Linked DNA regions of Homo sapiens: all the other regions are linked to region 1. Evidence: promoter capture Hi-C in 16 types of primary human blood cells and fetal thymus (Javierre and others, 2016). All regions are on one chromosome and are shown on one strand. Each heading gives the region's core, a stretch centred on a gene start or on the middle of the fragment in contact. The rest is flanking DNA. Distances are from core to core; before and after follow the strand shown. Region 1 holds the start of CPVL (carboxypeptidase vitellogenic like). Region 2 overlaps CHN2 (chimerin 2). Region 3 overlaps CHN2 (chimerin 2).

Region 1 (2,752 bases), core at 1-2,500:
GCCTACAGATCTCTGTTTGTACTTTTGCCCTGGGTCCTGCATATATTAAAGGTGGGCTGATTTTGGCCTTAAAAGAATTATTTTCCCACAAACAGATTTTTCTCCTTAAAGAGCTAGGTGGGTAGGAAGTACTTCCATATGGAAGGTATGATAGCAAAGAATGACTGCAGTCACTGAGCACATACTTTGTGCTGGGTGATTTACACATAGTTTTTCAGTGAGTCCTCACAACAACCCAATAAAGTAGGTACTTAGGAGAAAACAGATATTCAGTGACATTAGTTTGTTCCAGCTCGTAAAACTAGTGCTTTAGTTAGCCTTAGTTGCATAACAAACTACGCGAAACTGAAAGTGGCTTAAAACAATTTTTCCCCCTGACTGTCGGGTTGGCTGGGCTGCTCTACTGCGGGTTTCCCTGGGCTCACTCCTGCAGCTAGCTGTGAGGAGATGGAGGTTGGCCCGGGACAGTGCAGAAGATTCCCCGTGGCCTCTCCCACCTGTCTGGCAGTTGACGCTGCTGTTGCTGATAATGATGACCCTCCTTTATTTTGTGTTATCTACTTGCCATTGCAACCTCCTTGCCTTTTTTAGTTCTTGCTCCCGTACTGTCTGGCTCGATGCCCAGCACCTGGTGGTGGCTAATAATATACACTCAGGTCACTTACAAGCAATGTGACCCTGGATGGGTTACTTAACCTCACTTAGTTTGTGTCCCCCAATTGCAAAATGGGTATAATGGTACAGAACACATCAGGTGGCTCTGAGACTCCAGCGCAGTGATTCAGGAGAGTGCTTGGCAGGACAGTGGCACTTGGTGCGAGCTTACTGCTAGTGCAGCTGGAATGTAGACCATCAGCGAACGTGTGTTGCCTTTTTAAACAGTGGGAATCAAACACCACTCGCTTTCCAAATGTAAATCCTGGGCTTGCAAGTAAGTCCTAGAGTGCAGAAATAATTTCAAAATACAGGGTTGAAATTTTAAGATAGCAGCTTTTAAAAACTGGGAGACAAAATCAAAATAAAACAAAGGGACAAACCAACCTGAATGGCACCCCGCCGATGCTCTTCATTAATTTTTAAGATTCCACCCTGGGGCTGCTTGCTTCTTCCAGCATGGGAAGCGCTGACTTGATGCGGCCAGGTTTCTGGGACCAGGAGGTTGGGACACGACGACGCACTTTTTGCCCTGTGGGTCTGGGTCATGTGAGCCTAGAGGAGCGCTTAAAGGCTCGAGTTCTGCAGGGTCCTCGTGACTGGGTGGGGCTGCCTCACTTCTGCCTGATTTGGGAAGCGCTGCAAGGACAACCGGCTGGGGTCCTTGCGCGCCGCGGCTCAGGGAGGAGCACCGACTGCGCCGCGTAAGTGCCGCCTGCCCTGCGTGGGTCGTGCCAGCTCAGCGGGACAGGTCCTCGCCTCGGTCCCTCGGACTTAGGGAGCGCGGGGCAGGTAGTCTCAAAAGCCCTCAGCACCAACAGGGGAGAAAGCACCGTAGAGTGAGACTGGAGTGGGGTGGTCGTGGCCGAGTCAAAGTTCAAATTGGAGCATTGGGGATGTACTGCGTGCGCCCAGCCGAGGGAATACTCTTGAAGTTTCCTGGCACAACTGTCGCACCCGGGGTTCTTCCAGGCTAGAAGCCGTCTCCTACTCCAGGAGCTCCTCCGGGGAAGTACGAAGCTGTGGGGTCCTCTGCCGCTCTTAGCGCGGGAGGGTGGCGGGTGCAGGACACTTTCCCTTACTCCCTCAACGCGTGTTTTGGGGATGTGTTGATTTCGTGGGTGCTCAGAAGCAAGAGAAGCGGAAAATACCTTCTATTTTGAACGTGCCCAAAGCAGGGAAACTTGGCTTCTGCCTAGGAACGCATAGGAAGACTTTTATTCTTGGAATGTAGGATTAGCAGAAACCAAGGGCACAGGAGACAGGTGGAAGCAGCTCCCTGTGAAGTGATACAGAAACAAAAGGACTTTGGAATATTTGTGGATTTAAATCCCAGTTCTGGCCTTGGCTAGTGAGTGACCTCGGGCAAATTATTTAAGCCTACTAAACCTCAGTCTTTCCATCTGAAAGATGGAGATAATAAGTTTTTCTTTTTAAAGAATTGTTTTATTGGAAATAGAAATAACATACAGAAAATGCCTCCCTAGCACGGGACTTGGCTTTTCAGCTAAGTGTAATTTTCCTTATCAGTTATGATTGATGATGAAGTCTATGGTGAAGACAGAACAAAATAATGTTTAAAACTCTGGCCATATAATGACTGTGGCTATGCATGACCCGTGTGCAGTCACCTCTGAGCCCCCCACCTTCACTGCAACCCCAGTGGGTCCCAAGCAAGGTGCTTGGGTTTTGGAGCTGGACAATTCTGTGCAATTCCTGGTTCCGGTATCCACTACTTGGATGACATCAGGGACGTAACTTATCTTCCACAGCCTCAGTTTTGGCATCAGTAAATGAAAAAGGAGCCCCTCAGTACTTGCCTTTCCCTTCCCCGGCTAAATGTACAACTCATTTTTTTTCCATTCTTTGCTTTGGGATGAGTAAGAACAAAGATGTAAGCAGAGTAAAAAGTCCATTGAGAATACATTTTATTAGCTTGGTAAATAACGTTTAAGAAAGTTGTCCAAAAGGAGAATTGGAGCACTTTTGGAAAAGTACACTGCACCGGCTTTGTTGGCATATGAAAGTCTGCATGGTCGTCAAGACCGTTTGGCTAACTGGGCATTCTAGATGTGTACCTCATGCTAGTCTAAGTACA
Region 2 (2,700 bases), core at 69-2,568, 270 kb before region 1:
GCTGGGTCAGGCATCACTTCCTAACCTTCAGGAGGGTAACATCAATTTCAGTTTCCTCTCATCTGAACTGACTCCATCATGACTGGAAGAAGTGAGACACATGCTTGTGTCTGAAGACTCACATTTCAGACTCATCACCTTGCGATATAGTAAAGGTATACAGAGCTTTATAGTATTGCCCAATCCTTTTCAAATTCATATAGCTCAAGGCTAAAAATGCACACAGAGATTGTTCTCTTAGAAATCACAGAGGCAGGCATGTGTGTAATGAACACATCTCTTCTCGAGGAATTCCCTCAGCCACACCTATTTCTTCATAAGAACAAATCAGTCCAGAGCAGAAGACGATTAGAATCAAGCCACAAGGACACTGAGTACCGATATTGGGAAGAGGAAAATAATTCCTAATATAACGCTTTGTTTAGAAGCTTTAAAATGAGACACACAGCAAATCTGCTCACTGTGTCAATGTGGTCCAGTGGAAAGTACAGCCTGTTCGAAGTCAGACGAGCCACCTTCTAGCAACTGGCTGTTCGTGAAATGACCCGCAAGTCACAAGTTCTACGACCCTGGGCAAATCGCCTGGCTTTCCCAAGCCCCGGGTTTCTTGTTTCTTTGTTGGAAGAGGAGGAACAATGAAGTTAAGGGTTGTCATGAAGCAGAATGAAATAATGTAGTTTATGATAGATTAAAAACAATGATATGCTTAATACATGTAATGTTCTTTCTAGGGGGAGTAATTGTAACTTTCCTAAAATCATTTGAGATTAACATAATAAAAGTCCCTTATATCATGAATTATTTTCATGGAATTTATATGTACTGTGGTAAAATATAACTGCTTTTACTCTGTTAAAGGTGTGTTGGGACACGCATAGCCCACAGTTCTGTGTCTTACTTCTAATCCTCAACTTGGGTATTAAAGTGTCTCTTGCAAATGACAGTGCTTTGACTTTTTAAATAATTTTTTAAACCAATGAGTCACTTGAGAACAATCAAAGTTGCATGTGTAAACTTTAACTTTCTCTTCTGATACTTGGACTTCATTAAGTTCATAAATGGGGACTTAGGAACAAAGTGAAATATTAACTTTGCGGGAACTTCAAAGTGATTGTGTATAAGGAGAGAGAAAACCAACAGGGGCATTTATAAACTATCATCATAAGACCCGGCCAGACATTTTTTTATTGCAAAATGAGTAATGCCAGTTCTGCAACCTGGTCCAGAGGCCATGAAAACAAACCAATGTAGCCCTGACAGTTTCATTTCCATTAACGGCAATGGGAATTATTCAGGGAACAAAATCCTTCTTCTTCCCACAGTTGATCCAGGACCCCACCCACCCACCCCTACAAATTCTTATAGGCCAAGCCTTTAATTCTGAAAGACTACAAATGGAACTTTGACCTTTCCTTCTTCAGAGTCTACAGGTTCCCAACTGCTCATCTGTTGTACCAATGATCTGAGAGATACCCCTTCCAACAGAGGGCTCTCGTGGCCACATCCAATGCTGCAAAAGGGGCCATGTTTCATCCCATTCTGTTAAAAAAGTTTCCCGGAAATATCACAAGTTGCTGAGAATCTGGTTTACCAGGTTCATTAAGACTCTTTAGTGTCCTGGCGCGGTGGCTCACGCCTGTAATCCCAGCACTTTGGGAAGCCAAGGTGGGCGGATCACGAGGTCAAGAGATTGAGACCGTTGTGGCCAACATGGTGAAACCTGTCTCTACTAAAAATACAAAAATTAGCTGGGTGTGGTGGTGTGAGCCCGTAGTCTCAGCTACTTGGGAGGCTGAGGTAGAAGAATCACTTGAACCCGGGAGATGAAGGTTGCAGTCAGCCAAGATGGCACCACTGCACTCCAGCCTGGAAACAGAGGGAGACTCCGTCTCCCAAAAAAAAAAAAAAAAAAAAAAAAAAAAGACTCTTTAGCAGAGCGCCTTAATCTTACTGAAATGCATTTAACTGTAAGAGGTCTACATATATATATGTTGTGGAGCCAGGAGGTAAAGGATGACGGCTGCATTCCAGCAGTGGCTTCTGGGTTATTTCCCATGTCTGCCTGGTAAACAAGATGCTACATTCCTACCCATTTCAGTAAACACTAGAGGTCCCCTTTTTCTGATTTAACACCACCATTTTAAAGAAGGGTAGTGTGGATTATTGGATTAAAATTAAAATGAACCTGAACTTGAATAGCTAAGCTTCCTCAGTAATGGTGACAAGTAAGGTGAGTGGGAATGAAGGACAGCAGAGGTGGCAGGGAGCTGACAGGTGGGTTCCAGTTCTTGTGGGGATGATAGCAGCTGCCGACTTAAATGCAGCACCAACATCTGCTTACCCAGCTCAAAGGCAAGGCAGCAATGAACTGCCAGCAGTACTGGAACATCCAGAGACGGGGGCGGGCTGAAGGGCAGCTCCGCGAGAAGCTCAGATCAGGCCTCAGGACTCAGCTTCTCTCTCCCCATCTCCAGGCTCTACTTTCTCCAGGCTCCATTCTCAGGCTCTATCGGGTGGCGGGAAGCCTTCAGCAGCCCAGGCTCTACTTCCTGCCTAATTGAGCCAAGCAGAAAGAGGGTGAAAGGCCTGGCTCCTGGAACTCACGGTAAAAGTCTGTTGTCTTCCCCTGGCTCTGACTTGACCACATGGTCACCCTTGAACCAACCACCCTAGCCAGGGACACGGGGTCCTTCGGCTTGG
Region 3 (2,700 bases), core at 3-2,502, 280 kb before region 1:
TCTTTCTTACTCGCCAGCAGGACCCTGACTAGGCTTAGGCAGCAACATGCAAGGATCCCAGGAATTGACTAAGAACAGTCCAAGCCAATTATGGCTCCTTGTTCACTTTGTCAATGACTGGCTTACAGGAGGGCATGGGACAGAGCAGGGGTCAGTGAGGGAAAGTCCGCTGGGGAGAGGCTTTCTCCTGTAAAGGGAGGGATGGAGAAGTGGAGAAGTCCCCTTTTTTTTTTTTTTTTTTTTTTGCTATCATCTTTCTTACCCTCTGCTTAGGACATTGTCACGTGATGCCTCTGTTAAGTTAAGCTTGGCCTAAAACTGCCTTCGTACATATTTTAAGTTTGGCCTAAAGGTGTCTCATCTCCATACATAGTGAATGGTAACCTACTCTGATGCGTAAACAGACTTTTTGATGTGTAAACTACTCTCGTAGCTGAGCTTTAGCCAACCAAATGTGGCCAGTTGTTTAGAGCAGACTCAAAAAAGGCCACGGCCCAGCTGTAACCAATCCAGCTGTTTCTGCACCTCACTTTCATTTTCTGTGCAACACTTTCTTTTTGCTGTCCATAAATGTTATCTGACCACGTGGCAGCCCCAAGTCACTCAGAACCTATTCTGGTTCTAGGGACTGCCTGATTCTAGAATCATTCTTTGCTCAACTAAACTGCGTTAAATTTAATTTGTCTAAAGCTTTTAACACCTGTGATGGAACAGCAATCTTCCTGTGCACTTGTTGACCAAATCAAGGGGGTAGGCCATGTAGTGGGGCTGGCAGAGGGGCAATGAAAAGAGCCTGGGTCCATGACAAAACCATCAGCTCCAACGCATCCTGAAACCACCATATCTTGGCCTTTCTGTTCAGGAAACAACAAATGCCCTGCACAGTTTAAATCTTTTAGCTGGACTCTGTTACTCAACAAAGATTTGCTACCTTTAAACTCTAAGAAAATATTAAGCAATATATCCTATGCAAAGCGTGTTTCTTTCTAAGTACAGTAGAAATGGCCTCCTAAAGGGGAGCATCCTAAAGTGGATTTACCTTTTCTCCTTGGAACAGCGTGCTTCTATTCTTTACAGAGGTCTTATACTGCCAATTAATTATAACACAAACAGCATATGAAATCGAAGATATAGCTACGAAGCTTAAATAGCTATACGCTAATTACGCAAGGTTCCTATATATAATAAAGTCCATATAAAGCACAAAAGTACACCATATTGTTAGATACATTTCCAAATTTATATGTAATATAAACATCTAAAATTAATCTAGTCACAACAAATATAAAAATCAAATTTCTACCTTATAATTTTATCTAAGTCTGTACTAGGACCCACTCAAGTCCTGCTCTCAAAGCTTTAGTATAAAACTCAATCACATTTTCCAGGGAACTGAACCTTGAACACATATTCCAGGGAACTGAACCTTGAAGTATGGGTGTGTGTGTGTGTCTGTGTGTGTGTAACTCATGCTTTGTTCCAAAAAGTGTAAGATGGGCAACCTGTGTGTTTCTTGTCAAAGGTCATCAATTTCTCAACTTATAAAGTAGATTTTATATAATTGGTATCAGATATCAAAGCGAACCAAAAACAAAACAAACAAAAGAGTCTCTAAATTTAGTTCCCACCATCTCTTACTGTTAGTTTCAAAGGAGATCAGAAATGTTTATAGACTATTTCACTCTTACTGCAATACCACCTGATTCTAAAAAGACTGATATCTCTTCTTTTACTTACTTGGTTAAATGCATAGCTATTTCAGATAAGTGTCTGCCAACTTCCAAATGACTAGGGCAAAAACTAGGCTCATTCTGGAATTTTCTGAAGTGGTCTGAGTATATGAAACCAAATGTTATTGCTCTTGGAGAACACTAAACAAGATACTTGTGATATGCATAGGGCAAGAGGCAATAAACCCTTGAAAACAGTCAACTACTGTAAAGATTGGGAGGCGGTGACCCATCCATTTCTGCTTTCTCTTGAGCAGTAGCCAGTTACAGTCCCCACTCAATGAAAATGCGAGTGGAAATGATGTGCTACTTCCAGGACTGGCCCATAGAAACCTCCCCAGTGCGGCCCAAAGAGACTCATTTTCCAGCTGACCAGAAAAGCCTCTCAGGATTTACATCATTGCATCTTCAACTCTGGTCTCAGAACCTCTTTATATTCTTTATTTAGGACCCCAAAAAGCTTTTGCTTCTGTGGGTTGCATCAGTTTATACTTACAAAGAAAACTTCAGAATATTAATACATTAAAAATACAAAAATATAAATTTTATAGGCCCTACGTGCTAATATAAGTAGTTTTTACATAAAAATTAACCATATTGGCTCAAACAAAAAAATGACAAAAGTAGCATTATGTCACGTTTTTCCAAATCTCTTTGTTATCTAACTTGATAGAAGACAGTTGGATTCTCACATCTGGTCCTATATTTCACTTGTTGTGTTGGTTGAAGAATATGAAAAAAAATCCAGGCTTTTGCAGAGACACAGTTGGAAAAGGAGGGCCTTGTGGAAATGGTCTGAATTTGAAATGGTCCCAGGGAACCCAGGGTTCTTGGATCTACTTTGAGAGCCAGTGATTTAGAGAGAGAGCCATAGGATGTTAGGAGTCTGGGTTCTTAAATGACCACAAACAATGCAACCCAACCAGAAACATCCCCATTGGACCATGATGCAAGTGGGAAATGACCTTTG

Evidence for each region. Contacts are between HindIII fragments. The CHiCAGO score rates a contact against its expected background, and 5 or more counts as called.
Region 2: a contact is called between a fragment that was not itself captured here and the fragment with the promoter of CPVL in region 1, in 5 of 17 cell types (total CD8 T cells, endothelial precursors, M1 macrophages and 2 more). The highest score is 7.6, in total CD8 T cells.
Region 3: a contact is called between a fragment that was not itself captured here and the fragment with the promoter of CPVL in region 1, in 1 of 17 cell types (total CD8 T cells). The highest score is 6.2, in total CD8 T cells.

What each region holds. Positions count from the first base shown.
Region 1 is chr7:29,145,035-29,147,786 of GRCh38, reverse strand. It overlaps CPVL (carboxypeptidase vitellogenic like), which reads left to right and starts at 1,250. Exons shown (of 13, transcript NM_031311.5): 1 at 1,250-1,358. It also overlaps a transcript of CHN2 not described here. The HindIII fragment of the contact is 3,879 bases long and covers 1-2,752 here.
Region 2 is chr7:29,411,543-29,414,242 of GRCh38, reverse strand. The region is part of intron 6 of CHN2 (chimerin 2); the gene reads right to left. Among named protein-coding and RNA genes, the nearest start is that of PRR15-DT, 150 kb to the left of the region's middle. The HindIII fragment of the contact is 1,776 bases long and covers 431-2,206 here.
Region 3 is chr7:29,428,335-29,431,034 of GRCh38, reverse strand. All of the region lies in intron 6 of CHN2 (chimerin 2), which reads right to left. Among named protein-coding and RNA genes, the nearest start is that of PRR15-DT, 130 kb to the left of the region's middle. The HindIII fragment of the contact is 215 bases long and covers 1,145-1,359 here.